Regions from separate parts of the Homo sapiens genome. Here regions 2, 3 and 4 are each linked to region 1. The links are contacts of gene promoters, found by promoter capture Hi-C in blood cells and fetal thymus (Javierre and others, 2016). All regions are on one chromosome and are shown on one strand. The core of a region is centred on a gene start or on the middle of the fragment in contact, and the rest is flanking DNA. Distances in the headings are between cores, read along the strand shown. Region 1 holds the start of ATP6V0E1 (ATPase H+ transporting V0 subunit e1). Region 2 overlaps CREBRF (CREB3 regulatory factor). Region 3 overlaps CREBRF (CREB3 regulatory factor). Region 4 overlaps CREBRF (CREB3 regulatory factor).

Region 1 (3,511 bases), core at 634-3,133:
TACATTAATAAATGCTTCTTTGAGTACAAAGGCCATAAAGGCAGACAGTAGGGTAATGAAACAGTTGAAGATATAAACACAACAAAGAAGCACTTTGTTGTTCGCTAACTCCAGTAGGAAAAACAAGTCTAATTAACTTTGGTAAATACAATTGCTTTAATAATGCCAGAATTCTGACTCTGTCCATCAACCTCTATAGGTAGGAGAGATGACCCCATATAACTGGTGTTACCAGGGAGGAGGAACTTGATACTTAAAAATGATAAAAATTCATCTACCATGTATCTTTTAAAAAAAAATAATTTTAGACTAATAAAGCAAATGTATCCCAGGGAGCAAAAGGGGTTCAGGTCACAAAATATTAGGGAAGTAGTAAAAATCTTTTTCTTTCTTTTTTTTTTTTTTTTTTGAGACGGAGTCTCGCTCTGTCGCCCAGGCTGGAGTGCAGTGGCGCGATCTCGGCTCACTGCAAGCTCTGCCTCCTGGGTTCACGCCATTCTCCTGCCTCAGCCTCCCGAGTAGCTGGGATTACAGGCGCCCGCCACCACGCCCGGCTAATTTTTTGTGTTTTTAGTAGAGACGGGTTTCACCGTGTTAGCCAGGATGGTCTCGATCTCCTGACCTCGTGATCCGCCCGCCTTGGCCTCCCAAAGTGCTGGGATTACAGGCGTGAGCCACGGCACCTGGCCAAAAATCTTTTTCTTTTAATAAAGACAATAGAACTATTCACTCAACAGGTATTTATTGGGTGCCTCCTGTGCATACAAGGTACTATGAAAACCAGGCACTATGAAGCCACCAATTAGGTTCAAGAATAAAGCAAGAGATGGTGTTTCTGACAAACTGACTTCAGTCGAAGTTTCACCTCTCATCATCTTGAACTGAGAAAAAAATGACTGAGAAGCAAAAGAGGAACCAGGAAGAGGGTGTTCCAAGGCTCCTTTGAAGATTAAGCCTCTATTTTATACTACAGTTAAAAAGTTTAATTCCAAAAGAGACAAAGCTCTAACCAACAAAGAAGTCTGGAAAAACAAAATCTTTCTTAGCCAATCATTCTAAGCACTTCTTACACTCACATACAAGAGCCGGAGCGCCCTCCAAAAGGCATGACGCAGGGGTTTCTCAACAATACCTCCTGCTCTTTGGTAATTAATCTCGCTTTAGATCAGGCCCCAACCGCCTCCTGGCGCCCACTAGATGCAAGGCCTGGGCTCAATGTTGTCGAAGGAGCTTGTTCTGTACGCAACCGCGACAGCATGGGAGGCAGAGAAGCCAATTTCTGTTTTATTTATTTGATCCTTAAGTTCAGGCAAACGAGGCCTCATGTGGGTGGAAGGCAGGGCTAAAGGGGGACAGTCGACTAGGGACAAACCCCAGTTTCTCCCAGATTCGGCCTGCTCATTTCCGACTGCACCTCCCCACACAGGACTATGATGAGAAAAAATTCCCCTGAAACTCGTTTCCAAGGGGGGTCCACCAAAGGTCACCCTCCACTCGCTCAGGCCGGAGGACACTGAAGCTGCTGCGAAAAGGAACACAAGGAGTTCCGCCGGGTCGGGGGCCTGACTCTGCAGCGCGGGGGGCGCCCATGCAACGTTCTCTGACCCGTGTGGGGGTCGTGCCTTTCCCCGCCCCGGCCTGCTAGCTCCTCACCGCCCGTTCCTCCCAAGGCGGGCCTCACGCACTTACCCCCGGTTAGGACCCTTAGGGATGAACCAAGGCACCAAGAAGCCGACGAAGCCCCAGAACACGCTCATCACAATGAGAGGCACAGTGAGGCCGTGATACGCCATGGTCGCCGCCTGAGCGCCAACCCCTACCCCGTCGCCTCACTCGGATCCCACCAGGAAGTGTCAATAGCTGACCGCGTGACCAGCGTGTGCAAGCCCCGCCTCCCGCGCCCCCACGTGACCCGCGCGCCGGCCTCCGCCCCTCGGGGAGCCCAGAGGCAGAGCCCCGCCTTCGCCTGGCTGTCTCCTGGCTGCAGCTCCTTGGAGGCATGTCGCTCACCCCAGAGCTAGGGATTCGGTCACCCGGGGCTCAGCAAAGTGTTCTGATGAGAACTTGGCCCTTTTAGACAAAGAGTGTAGTTATCTACAGCCTCATCTACTTATGCAACAGACATAGAGAACTTAACAATAGTTGTCCCTTACTATTCTGAATTCCCGTGTGCCTGGCACTGGGCCATGATCTTTAAGTTCATGAGCCCCAGGCCGGGTGCGGTGGCTCACGCCTGTAATCCCAGCACTTTGGCAGGCTGAGGCAGGCGGATCACTTGAGGTCAGGAGTTCGAGACCAGCCTGGCCAACATGGTGTAACCCTGTCTCTACTAAAAATACAAAAATTAGCTGGGTGTGGTGGTGCGCGCCTGTGGTCCCAGCTACTCAGGAGGCTGAGGCAGGAGAATCAATTGAACTCGGGAGGTGGAGGTTGCAGTGAGCCGAGATTGCGCCACTGCACTCCAGCCTGGGCAACAGAACAACACTCTGTCTCAAAAGAAAAAAAAAAAAGTGCATGAGCCCGTGTTGAACTCCTCACTTCAGCCTATGAGGTAATTGTAATTATTATCCCCACTTTGCAGTTGAAGAAACTGAGGCCCAGGGAAGAGGATAAGGATCTTGCCCAAAGTCACATAGTAAGTGGCAGGGCCAGGATTCAACCCCTGATTATCTGATTTTCAAGGCCAGAGCTCTTAACTAGCGCACCACTATTTATCTTGTGTGCTGTGCCAGGCTCTGGAGTTACAGAAGTCAATCAGGCACCCCTGAGGGAGTTCACATTCTGGGGAGCAGATGACCTTGCAAACAGGCGACTCAATGCAGTGTGAAAGTAAGTGGACGACCCTGCAAGGCTTTCTACCCAACTCGTCCTTGCTGAGCCTTGAAAGACAAGTAGAAATTAGCCAGAATGGTAAGAAGAAAAACAGGCCAGGCATGGTGGCTCACACCTGTAATCCCAGCACTTTGGGAGGCCGAGGCGGGCAGATCACCTGAGGTCAGTAGTTCAAGACTAGCCTGGGCAACATGGTGAAATCCCATCTCTACTAAAAATACAAAAATTGGCCAGGTATGCACCTGTAGTCCCAGCCACTCAGGAGGCTGAGGAACAAGAACCGCTTGAATCCCTGGGAGGCAGAGGTTATAATGAGCTGAGATCGCACCACTGCACTCCAGCCTTGGCGACAGAGTGAAACTCTGCCTCAAAAAAAAAAAAAAAAAGAAAGAAAGAAAAAGAAAGGTAAAACAGTTTTGTTTGTTTGTTTGTTTTTTGAGACAGGGCCTTGCTCTGTCACCCAGGCTGGAGTGCAGTGGTGCTCCATAGCTCACTGCTGCCTGGAACTCCCGGGCTCAAGCCATCCTTCTGCCTCAGCCTCCTGAGGAGCTGGGACTACAGGTGTGCACCACCACACCAGCTAATTTTTAAAATGTTTTGTAGAGACAGAGCCTCGCTATGTTGCCCCGGTGGGTCTTAAACTCCTGGCCTGAAGGGATCCTCCACCTCAGCCTCCCAA
Region 2 (3,511 bases), core at 540-3,039, 120 kb before region 1:
TCTTGGTCTATCACTCCAGGCAAAAGGGATGGCTCTGTCCTCTGAACTCCTACAACTTTCCTAGTATTCATATGCTACTTGGGATTATTGACTGGACTTAATGTTTCATTTCTAGTAGAAAACTTATCTGAAGGCAAAAGCTTGGTAATTATTTACTGAGAGACAATATAGTACACCTGGTTGCTAGTGGAAAAGGAAAATGAGACACAAACATACATCAGATGGAATTCTTGTCCTCAAAAATCCTTTGCAACTCACATTCGTACGATGAGTGAATAACCTGTTTACTGACCATCACACTTACTAGTAGTTCCCCTCCCCACTTTTTTCAGTAAAGACTTTGTATTAATTTTTTTTATTCAGAGCAGAAGAACTAGAAACTATGGATTAATTTAAAAATAACATTTGTGCAGAATAAATTCTACTTAATCACAGCTTCCTGAGTTCACAATAAAAAATTTGACCTACCTAAGACTGTCATTTTTAAAATTTTTTTAGAGACAGGATCTCACTCTATCGCCCAGGATGGAGTGCAGTAGCATAATCACAATTCACTGCAGACTCTAACTCCTGGACTCAAGTGATCCTCCCAAAGTGCTAGGATTACAACCATGAGCTGCAGCACACGGCCTGACCTACCTAAGATTATAAACTTCTGATTCCTGCTACAGGTATTCAACTCTTCTCTACAACTCCTTTTCTCCATAACCATCCTCCCTTTCTTTTCTTTCCTTGCCCTTTTATCCCCATTACCGTTTGAATTCCAGTCCCCCCATTTACATCTGGGGATTACACAAGAATGCAAGAGAGCCCGTTCACTTTCTCCTCAACCCTTCTGGTTATACCAACTGTGACAGGTCAGAAACCAGCAGCCTCCTAGTCATTTCCTGAATGGGGTAGGTAGATTAAGAAGGGACTAGAAATGAAATAATGTTTACACAGTCCTTCCTCTCCACTTAGGTGAGGACTCTTAACACTGGTAAAAGCTATTTGTGAGTGACGAAGAGTAGTCACACAAATGTAGCAGCTCTACAGTCCCCATCTCCAGTTTGCTAGGAAGGGCTGAATGCCTAGGTACACGGAGTAAACATTATGGATTAGTAGCTCAACTTGATTAAAGTGACACTAAATATCTGACTGCAATCCCCTCTTACCATGATGTAAGCCATTTTTCTGATACATATTACTTGGCAAAGTATCTCGGTTCCACTCAGATGGTCTCAGCATCCTCTCTTGCTGTGATGGTGTAAGTTGTTCACTATACTCCCAGAAGTATCTTCTTTTACCTCTCTTCCGTGAAGATATTGAAGTCACCTCCTTCAGGTCTTCTACAGAATCATTTTCATAGCCTTAAAAAAAGGTCCCGCAATTTTTAAGCTCCATAAATTTCAATAAATCAATCAGAACAAATGAAAAGACCCCTTCTATTTGTAACTTGGTATATTTCCTTGCATCTGAAAACATCATTGGCATGTCAAAGATAATAAACCAGGTCTATAAGAGAACTTTTAATATGTAAATCTCTAACTCATAAAACATTCCGAGATTAATAAACATAGATAACTACACTGTTCATCTTCCTTGGGTTTCTTTTTAGTTTTTATAAGTTAGTATACGATACTATTTTTATTATCTTCAAACAGGATTAAGAGAACAATTACAGGACAGCTATAGGAATATCAAAAGTACCATCAGATAATGGTACTTAGATACATAAACTATGATTTTTAAATGTCTTCCTTCTAATATTTGTATCTGAAACATCTCAGACAGAAAGCTATGTATACTTCTTTTTTTTTAAATATTTTTCTTTTATTTTAATTTTTAAAAAATTTTTTGTAGGCCAGGCGTGGTGGCTCACACCTGTAATCCCAGCACTTTGGGAGGCTGAGATAGGTAGATCACTTGAGGTCAGGAGTTTGAGACCAACCTGGCCAACATGGCAAAATCGTCTCTACTAAAAAACACAAAAATTAGCCAGGGCGTGGTGGTGCACGCCTGCAATCCCAGCTACTCGGGAGGCACAGACATGAGAATCACTTGAACTCAGGAGGCGGATGTTGCAGTGAGCCGAGATTGTGCCGCAGCACTCCAGCCTGGGCAACAGAATGAGACGCTCACTCTGTCTCCAAAAAAAAAAAAAAAAAAAAAAAAATTTTGTAGAGACAGAGGTCTCACTATGTTGCCAGGCTGGTCTCAAACTCCTGGGTTCACAAGCAGTCCTCTGGCCTCAGCCTCTGAAAGTGCTGGGATTACAGGCATGAGCCACCATGCCTAGCCCAGCTGTATACACTTCTATGATGGTGTTCTACTAGGCAGAATTCTATGTGGCAGCATTAGTTTTCTTCCTACCTGTCACACCACTTCTTTTGGAAAAGTATAAAAGATGACGGTTCTCACACTGGCTATCAGATAAAAAACTTATATGCCTATTCCAGTTAATATTTTATTGAAAGCTATTTGTATTAACGTCACTGTTTAAGAAGGGGGTATTTTCCTAATAGGAAGTTTCAGAAAATACTTAATTCTGAGTTGCTAGAACTGTTGGTCAGACCCAGTATTGAATGACCTATAAATCTAAAATACCCTCAGAGAATGGCCACCTCTGATGTACTCCAGATCATTAACGCTAGGTACATGAACAAGACGGAATGGGCTGTGCGAAGAATGTACACAATCCAAACCTAAGGTAACCAGGAAAACTTGGGCAGCATTGGCCATAAGTAAAAAGGTAATTTTTCCTTCCTGAAAACATAAGAAGGTGATGATATGTTTGCTTTGAGGAACTAAGTTTTCTCCAGACAAAGAATGAATCAGGAGCATGCTTCCATTTATATACTATTCTGGAAAAAGCAACCTATATGGACAGTGGTTGCCAGGGATTGGCAGTGGAGAAAAGGGATGACTATAAAAGAATATAAGGGGCCGGGTGCGGTGGCTCATGCCTGTAATCCCAGGACTTTGGGAGGCCAAGGTGGGCGGATCACCTGAGATCAGGAGTTCGAGACCAGCCTGGCCCACATGGCGAAACCTCATCTCTACTAAAAATACAAAAATTAGCCGGGCATGGTGGTGGGTGCCTGTAATCCCCGCTACTCAGGAAGCTGAGGCAGGAGAATCGCTTGAACCCAGGAGGCAGAGGTTGCAGTGAGCCAAGAGCGTGCCATTGCACCACAGCCTGGACAACAAGAGCAAGACTCCATCTCAATAAAATAAAATAAAATAAAATAAAATAAAATAGAAGAGGGAATTTTCGGGGGTGATCAAACTATTTGGTATTAGTGGTGATTACATGATTTGTCAAAACTCATAGAAGTGTACACTGTAAGAGGGGTGAATTTTACTGTGTGAAAATTATACCACAATAAACATGACTTTAAAAAAAAGAATCAATTTGGAAAGCAGAATGATTTCTGAGCAACAGTTAAGGCAAGCTTTTGTAGCACTGCTGGTATTAACAGCATTTTATTAGTGTACACGTGGTAGTTTAAAACAAAACAGCAAGCAGTGT
Region 3 (3,511 bases), core at 571-3,070, 96 kb before region 1:
CAGCAAATTGTTGATTCCCTGTGCTCAAGGGATAGCTCAGTATGGCAACACAAAAAGCCACCCAAGAGTCCCTGCCCACTCATTACTTCTAGGTTTCTCCCCAGCACTGAAACAAACAGGGGAGGGGCAAGAGCTAAACACTGGAGAAGAAAAGGAGGAGTTTAGATAAGCAGAATGGGGACTAACAGGGCTTCACTGATTGTCTCACTGATTGCCTAAAACCAAAACTGATCAATTCAGAGTAGCTGCCATAATATAAACAGATACAATCATTCTTAGATATATTTTGTGGGGAGATATTTACATGTGCACACATAGGTATGTGTGTGTGTCTATGAGAAAGAGAGAGATGAGAGGGGTTGGGGGAGGCAGCCTGAAGTCTCTCACTATTTCCTCTTAATTACTTCTAAATTCAGCTAGCATAAATGAAAGGTAAGAATTGGGAAATAGGAATAGTGAGGAGATAGAAACGGGATTGCTGTGGCAGACTAATTTTCAAGGGAGTTGGTTTTGCCCCATAAAGCCAGCAGATCTGTCCACCTTCTACCTATTTATCATACTACCTATGTAGAACTCATTAAACTTCAAGTGATAGCAAAGTAAGAAATAGAAGCCAATGGAAGGAAGAACATGTACTCAAAACTAGCTGAGATCAGAAATGAGATATCACAAAAAGGTAGTATGCAAAGTTGTGTTAAGATTCATTTAAGAGTCAAAGGTATTGACTTTCTGTAGTGGGAAAATAAAAAACTTTGCACCTACTCTGTATGATTTACCTGAGGCATTTCCAAGCCCAGATCCTGTGAATCCGATTCCAAACTTCTTTTTTTTCTTGTTTGTAAATTCCTTTCCAGCTTTACTTTCAATTCCAAGATCGAAGATGATTTCCACAATAAACAGCAGGTTTCCCCAGAGTGCTTCCAATTCAATTGCTTGGATCACTGCTTTTTTTTAAAATAATTCTGTGCGATGCTGTCTGTCAAACAACACAAAGTAACTTCACTGAATTCCAGGAAAAACAAGTTGATGTTTCAAAAAAAAAGTTGACTTTTGAAAAATAATATTAGCAGAGAATACTGTACTTTAAATGAGTAAGTCTTATGGTTGAGTTATCAAGGATTTGGTCATATCTTAATACTTACTATTCTGAAATTTACCATTCCTCCTCTTATATTTTTCTAAAATAGAGCTGGTCAATAACCAATTGGCAACATTAAAAAAAAAAAACACAAAATTAACATAGGCTTATTTTTTCTGTGATCTGAAAGATGTAATATATTGATTTTTAAAGTCAAGCTCTCATTCATTTTATGTTCTTTATGAGAAAACATATCTCAAAATTTAATTCCATCTATTGTATAATCATTACTGCTAAATTAATCTACATTTTATCTCTCTCATAAGTCAACAGAAGAGTAATGAATACATAATAGTCAGCAATGGAACTTAACATATCCTCTACATTAAATAAAATCACATTTGTAATGGTATATGCCAACATTATTCTTTCAGTTATAAGTATAAGCTCTCATTGAAGAAAGAATCATTCCAGCAAGTTTTTAACAGGTGTATGTTTGAGGGAAAACGGGCCTGAGGACTGCTTTGCAGAGTGGTTTCAAGGGTTAAGTAAAACAATGACTACAAATCATCTGGCACAGGATTTTGACAGGGTACAGACTTAAATGTTAGTGTTTTTTCCCTTCTCCATGAAGACTTTAACCAGGAGGAACTAAACAGTTATACTCGCTTCATTTTCCTGTCCAAGATCAGTGGGTCTCAAAGTATGATCCAAGGATCAGCAGTACTACATCAGCAACAACCTAAAAATTTGTTTAAAATGAAGAATCAAAACAGAACCTCTAGGAGTGGGTACCAGCAATGTTTTTTAATACGCCCTCCAGGTGATTGTGGTCCTCTCTAAAGTTTGAGAACCACTGTCCTATCCTTGATCTAATTCAGTCCAGAAGCAGTGTCACTTCTTATATTGGTAAACAGTCAATTTACACTGAATTTGCCTTCTGAAGTCAGCACATTGTCTGGGCTAGAGGGTTACAGTGGTACATTGTATTAATTTCCTTTTTTTTTTTTTTTTTTAAAAAAGACAGAGTCTCACTCTGTCACCCAGGCTGGAATGCAGTGGCCCAATCTTGGCTCACTGCAACCTCAACCTCCTGGGTTCCAGTGATTCTCCTGCCTCAGCCTCCCAAGTAGCTGAGATTACAGGCAAGCAACACCACACCCAGGGACTCAATCATTGTTCTACTTAATTAGATTAATAAACTGACTATAATTCACATTTTCTGGATCTTTGCTGCACTCTCCCCTCCAGTGGGCTGTCGTTCCCAGCTCACTGGTCTAACCTAGGAAACAATGTCAAGTGCCCACCTAGAAACAGTTAACTATGCTTTTCAATTCAGTGCTACAGTATAACTAGATTGCTCCCTGTTCCTGCCAAAGGCCTGTTCTTGTGCAGTCTCTCCTTATGTGACCTCATGCCGTCGTCCTACAACTGGTATGTAGTCATAATCATTGCCCTAATTCTCTCCCCTGATTCCTATGAGAAAGAAGGTCAGTCACTTTTTCTAGACCTATGACTTAGGCCTCCCTAAAGGCATCTAATTCAAGTCATGTGTTCAATAAAGTGGATCAGTATAATCTTGGCATAAAACCTGGATTTGGGAGAAAAGTTTGATACCCTTTAAAATCTGAAAAATTAACCTTACTAGCAATAGGGTCGGCTGGGCGCAGTGGCTCACACCTGTAACCCCAGCACTTTGGGAGGCTAAGGCAGGTGGATCACTTGAGGTCAGGAGTTCAAGACCAGCCTGGCCAACATGGCAAAACTCCATCTCTACTAAAAATACTCACCAGCACTTTGGGAGGCTGAGGCAGGAGAATGGTGTGAACCCGGGAGGCAGAGTTTGCAGTGAGCCGAGATCGCACCACTGCTCTCCAGCCTGGGCCACAGAGCAAGACCCCGTCTCAAAAAAAAAAAAAGAAAAAGAAAAACTTCACATCAAGAAATATATAAACCTCTTTGTAAATGAGAGTATTTTACGAATAATAAATATATATTTATTATACATTAATAATAATAAATACATAAACCTTTTTGTAAATGAGAGTATTTTATGAATAAGGAGATGTTGTATATGATGGCCAGAATCCCTGCAGCTCTTGTTTTATATGGAACTGGCTTAAGCCCCCTTTTAGTAACTTAAGGAAACTGGTTCCTCACAACAGTAAGTAGCTCTTCCGAATCATCTAACATTCATCACAGTAAATGTTAAAACATTTTTGACACACCAATTAAGATGAGTATTATCCAAAAAGTGGAAAATAACAAATATTGGCAAGGATATAGAGAAATCAGAGCCCTTGTGCATTTGCTGGTAGGATTGCAGCTGGTGTGGGAAACGGTTTGGTATTTCTTCAAAAAGCGAAATCCAATTACCATATGATCTAGCAATTCCACTCCTAGGTATATACCTAAAAGAGTTAAAAGCAGGGC
Region 4 (3,511 bases), core at 354-2,853, 76 kb before region 1:
TATAAGAACTACATGTGTTGACTATTCACGTGACTATCATCTCTTGAAACAGCTATACAGCTTTGTTAAGGATTATATGCTAAATGTGCTTTGAAACTTCAAGAGGACCATATCCTGAATATATCTTAGGGCCAAAGTTTTTTCAATCAGACTGCATCTCTAAAATCAACAGGATTTATACCAATATTTGCTTTAAACAGCTTTTCAAGAAAACATTTATATGTAAACGAAGGAAAAATACAAAATACAATGTTGCCATATGCTCTTGTACTAAAAATTCTCTTCAAGGCAGGAGACTGTACAATCTGCAAATGCTCAAATGTACCTAAAGTGTCTATTTGTATATTCTGAAATACCTTAACATCTAAGTACTTAAAACTCAGTGACTGGGCCAGATGTGGTGGTTCACGCCTGTAATCCCAGCACGTTGGGAGGCTGAGGCGGGCAGATCAGGAGGTCAGGAGATTGAGACCAGCCTGGCCAACACAGTGAAACCCCGTCTCTACTAAAAATACAAAACTTGGCTGGGCACGGTGGCAGGCGCCTGTAATCCCAGCTACTCAGAAGGCTGAGGCAGGAGAATCGCTTAAACCCGGGAGGCGGAGGTTGCAGTGAGCCGAGATCGTGCCACTGCACTCCAGCAGGGGGGACAGAACTAGACTCTGTCTCAAAAAACGAACAAACAAAAAACCTCAATGACTGATGTCTTACAACAGGGGCTGACAAACTATAGCCGTGGAAGCACAAATAGAGGCACAGCCTGACCTTGTAAATAAAGTTTTATTGGAATAGAGCCCAAAAATATGTAGAACATATTTTCTACAGCTGTTTCCATGCTACAGATTCAAAGTTGAGTAGTTGTGGCAGAGACTGGAAGGCTGAAAAAGCCTAAATATTAACTATTTGATCCTGTTCCAAAAAAAAAAAAAAAGTCTGTCAACCCTTGTCTTAAAATAATCAGAACCAATTATCTGACAAATTTATGTCTCGTCTAAGAGTTTACCTATCCCGAAATGAGCTACTGAATATGGTGAAAGTGTCAGTGAATTGTTCCTCAAAAAAATCCAAGTTCAACCCTACTTGGAAACAAGCGACTGCTAATTCATTTCAAAATCACATAACTAGAGGGGGCACGGTGGCTCATACCTGTAATCCCAGCTCTTTGGGAGGCCAATGCGGGCGGATCATTTAAGATTAGGAGTTCAAGACCAGCCTGGCCAACTTGGTGAAACCTTGTCTCTACTGAAAATACAAAAATTAGCTGAGCATAGCGGTGCACGCCTGTAATCCTAGCTACTCGGGAGGCTGGGGCAGGATAATCGCTTGAACCCAGGAAACGGAGGTTGCAGTGCGCCAGGATCACGCCACCGGACTCCAACCTGGGCAACGCAGTTAGACTCCGTCTCAAAAAAAAAAAAAAACATATATATATATATGTATTTTTTAAATAAATATATAGATGCCGATCTTGACTGAAAATTAAGCTTTAAAAGCAAACAGTGATTTCAGTTCTCTTTATCTTTTAAAAACTGAGTTATATTAACAGAATCAACACACAAACTTACTGTACTTCACTGTCACTTGTATTTAACCACCACCAGGAACCATGCTAGTTATTCCTTTACTTCTTACACTAGTATCCCAGAACCCACACACATCCACCCTGTAAACTAAGTAGACACCCTGTAAACTAAGTAGAACATTGTCTATATAAAAGCTTGCTTTCACCTGCCATGACAGAGAATGATGGTAAATGGAGCATCCAGACTCTCTTCGGGAGCTATTTAGCCTCTTCTATGCTTATGAATATAAAAAACCCAAAGCTGATATACCAGTCATATGAAGGAATTATACCCAAATAAGTTCTATTGCATCTATTTGCCATTCTTAGAATAAGAGAGCATTATATAAGCAATGCTGATTGACTTTATCAACCGATGCAACAGTGAAAACTGCCTGGAATATTCTAAGTATCAATGAAAAGTGTTTATTTTTATTTTCACTATACTTCTCTGTTAAACTAATTAGGGCATTGTAAGGGCTAGGGTTCCAAAAGCAACACAATGCCACCTGATAAAATAAGAATTGATAGGCCAGGCGCGGTGGCTCACGCCTGTAATCCCAGCACTTTGGGAGGCCAAGGCAGGCAGATCACCTTAGGTCAGGAGTTCAAGACCAGTCTGGCCAACATGGTGAAACCCCGTCTCTACTAAAAATACAAAATTAGCCGGGCGTGGTGGTGGGCGCCTGTAATCCCAGCTACTCAGGAGGCTCAGGCAGGAGAATTGCTTGAACCCGGGAGGCGGAGATTGCAGTGAGCCGAGATCTTCCCACTGCACTCCAGCCTGGGCGACAAGGGCGAAACTCCGTCTCAAAAAAAAAAAAAAAAGAAAAAAAAGAAAAAGAAGAACTGATAAATAAGCTAATACCCTTATTTACTGCAAAAGTTATACGTAAGAATTCAAGTTTATCAAATAATCAGGGATTACGTTTTTATGTATCATTATTAACAGAACTGAGTCAGTCATGCCAAAGTACTACAAAAATTGATGAATCAGGCCGGGCGCAGTAGCTCACACCTGTAATCCCAGAACTTTGGAAGCTGAGGTGGGTGGATCACCTAAAGCCAGAAGTTCGAGACCAGCCTGACCAGCACGTGGTGAAACCCCGTCTCTATTAAAAACACAAAAAATTAGCCAGGCATGGTGGCACGCGCCTGTAGTCGCAGCTACTCGGGAGGCTGAGGCAGGAGAATTGCTAGAACCCGGCAGGCGGAGGTTGCAGTGAGCCGAGATCGTGCCATTGCACTCCAGCCTGGGCGACAGACGGAGACTCCGTCTTAAAAAAAAAAAAAAAAAAAAAAAAAAAGAGGCTGGGCGCGGTGGCTCACGCCTGTAATCCCAGCACTTTGGGAGGCCGAGGGGGGCGGATCACGAAGTCAGGAGATCGAGACCGTCCTGGCTAACATGGTGAAACCCCGTCTCTACTAAAAATACAAAAAAAATTAGCCGGGCGTGATGGCGGGCGCCTGTAGTCCCAGCTACTCCGGAGGCTGAGGCAGGAGAATGGCGTGAACCCGGGAGGCGGAGCTTGCAGTGAGTCGAGATCTGGCCACTGCTCTCCAGCCTGGGCGACAGAGCGAGACTCCGTCTCAAATTAAAAAAAAAAAAAAAATTGATGAATCAGTTACCAATTATTCTTTTTCTCCAACTAATAAAATAGAAGATAATGCAAATTCTTAATACAGCTAACTCTGATTAGCCCCTGCATGATCTATCTAAGGCATGTTCTTACGCCTAAGTACTTAACCAAAGATGCCATCAAGAGCTTGGTACCCTTGACAATACCAACGTAGCCACAGGTTGTAATCCGATGTAAACACAAACCTAAATTAAGCATTTAACAAGGCCAAAAGGATGCCAAAATAACCATAATACAATTAGATTAAAATAAGTTATTTTCGAATTATTCATACCATTTTTCCCTGCCTCTGGTGTATATCCTATTTTGG

The links. The method cuts DNA at HindIII sites, captures the fragments that hold promoters and counts their contacts. A CHiCAGO score of 5 or more calls a contact.
Region 2: a fragment that was not itself captured here is called in contact with the fragment with the promoter of ATP6V0E1 in region 1 in 5 of 17 cell types (naive CD8 T cells, naive CD4 T cells, non-activated CD4 T cells and 2 more); the score reaches 7.2 in naive CD8 T cells.
Region 3: a contact is called between a fragment that was not itself captured here and the fragment with the promoter of ATP6V0E1 in region 1, in 1 of 17 cell types (naive CD8 T cells). The highest score is 5.0, in naive CD8 T cells.
Region 4: a fragment that was not itself captured here is called in contact with the fragment with the promoter of ATP6V0E1 in region 1 in 1 of 17 cell types (naive CD4 T cells); the score reaches 5.2 in naive CD4 T cells.

The regions. Positions count from the first base shown.
Region 1 is chr5:172,982,143-172,985,653 of GRCh38, reverse strand. It overlaps ATP6V0E1 (ATPase H+ transporting V0 subunit e1), which reads right to left and starts at 1,883. Exons shown (of 4, transcript NM_003945.4): 1 at 1,690-1,883. The coding sequence starts at 1,793. RefSeq lists a silencer at 1,829-2,008 and an enhancer at 1,774-2,068. The HindIII fragment of the contact is 8,334 bases long and covers 1-3,511 here.
Region 2 is chr5:173,106,462-173,109,972 of GRCh38, reverse strand. It overlaps CREBRF (CREB3 regulatory factor), which reads right to left. Exons shown (of 9, transcript NM_153607.3): 5 at 1,155-1,349. Among named protein-coding and RNA genes, the nearest start is that of BNIP1, 36 kb to the left of the region's middle. The HindIII fragment of the contact is 3,294 bases long and covers 143-3,436 here.
Region 3 is chr5:173,078,050-173,081,560 of GRCh38, reverse strand. It overlaps CREBRF (CREB3 regulatory factor), which reads right to left. Exons shown (of 9, transcript NM_153607.3): 2 at 777-976. The coding sequence starts at 785. Among named protein-coding and RNA genes, the nearest start is that of CREBRF, 23 kb to the right of the region's middle. RefSeq lists a silencer at 1-185. The HindIII fragment of the contact is 8,132 bases long and covers 1-3,511 here.
Region 4 is chr5:173,058,144-173,061,654 of GRCh38, reverse strand. The region is part of intron 1 of CREBRF (CREB3 regulatory factor); the gene reads right to left. Among named protein-coding and RNA genes, the nearest start is that of CREBRF, 3.5 kb to the right of the region's middle. The HindIII fragment of the contact is 233 bases long and covers 1,487-1,719 here.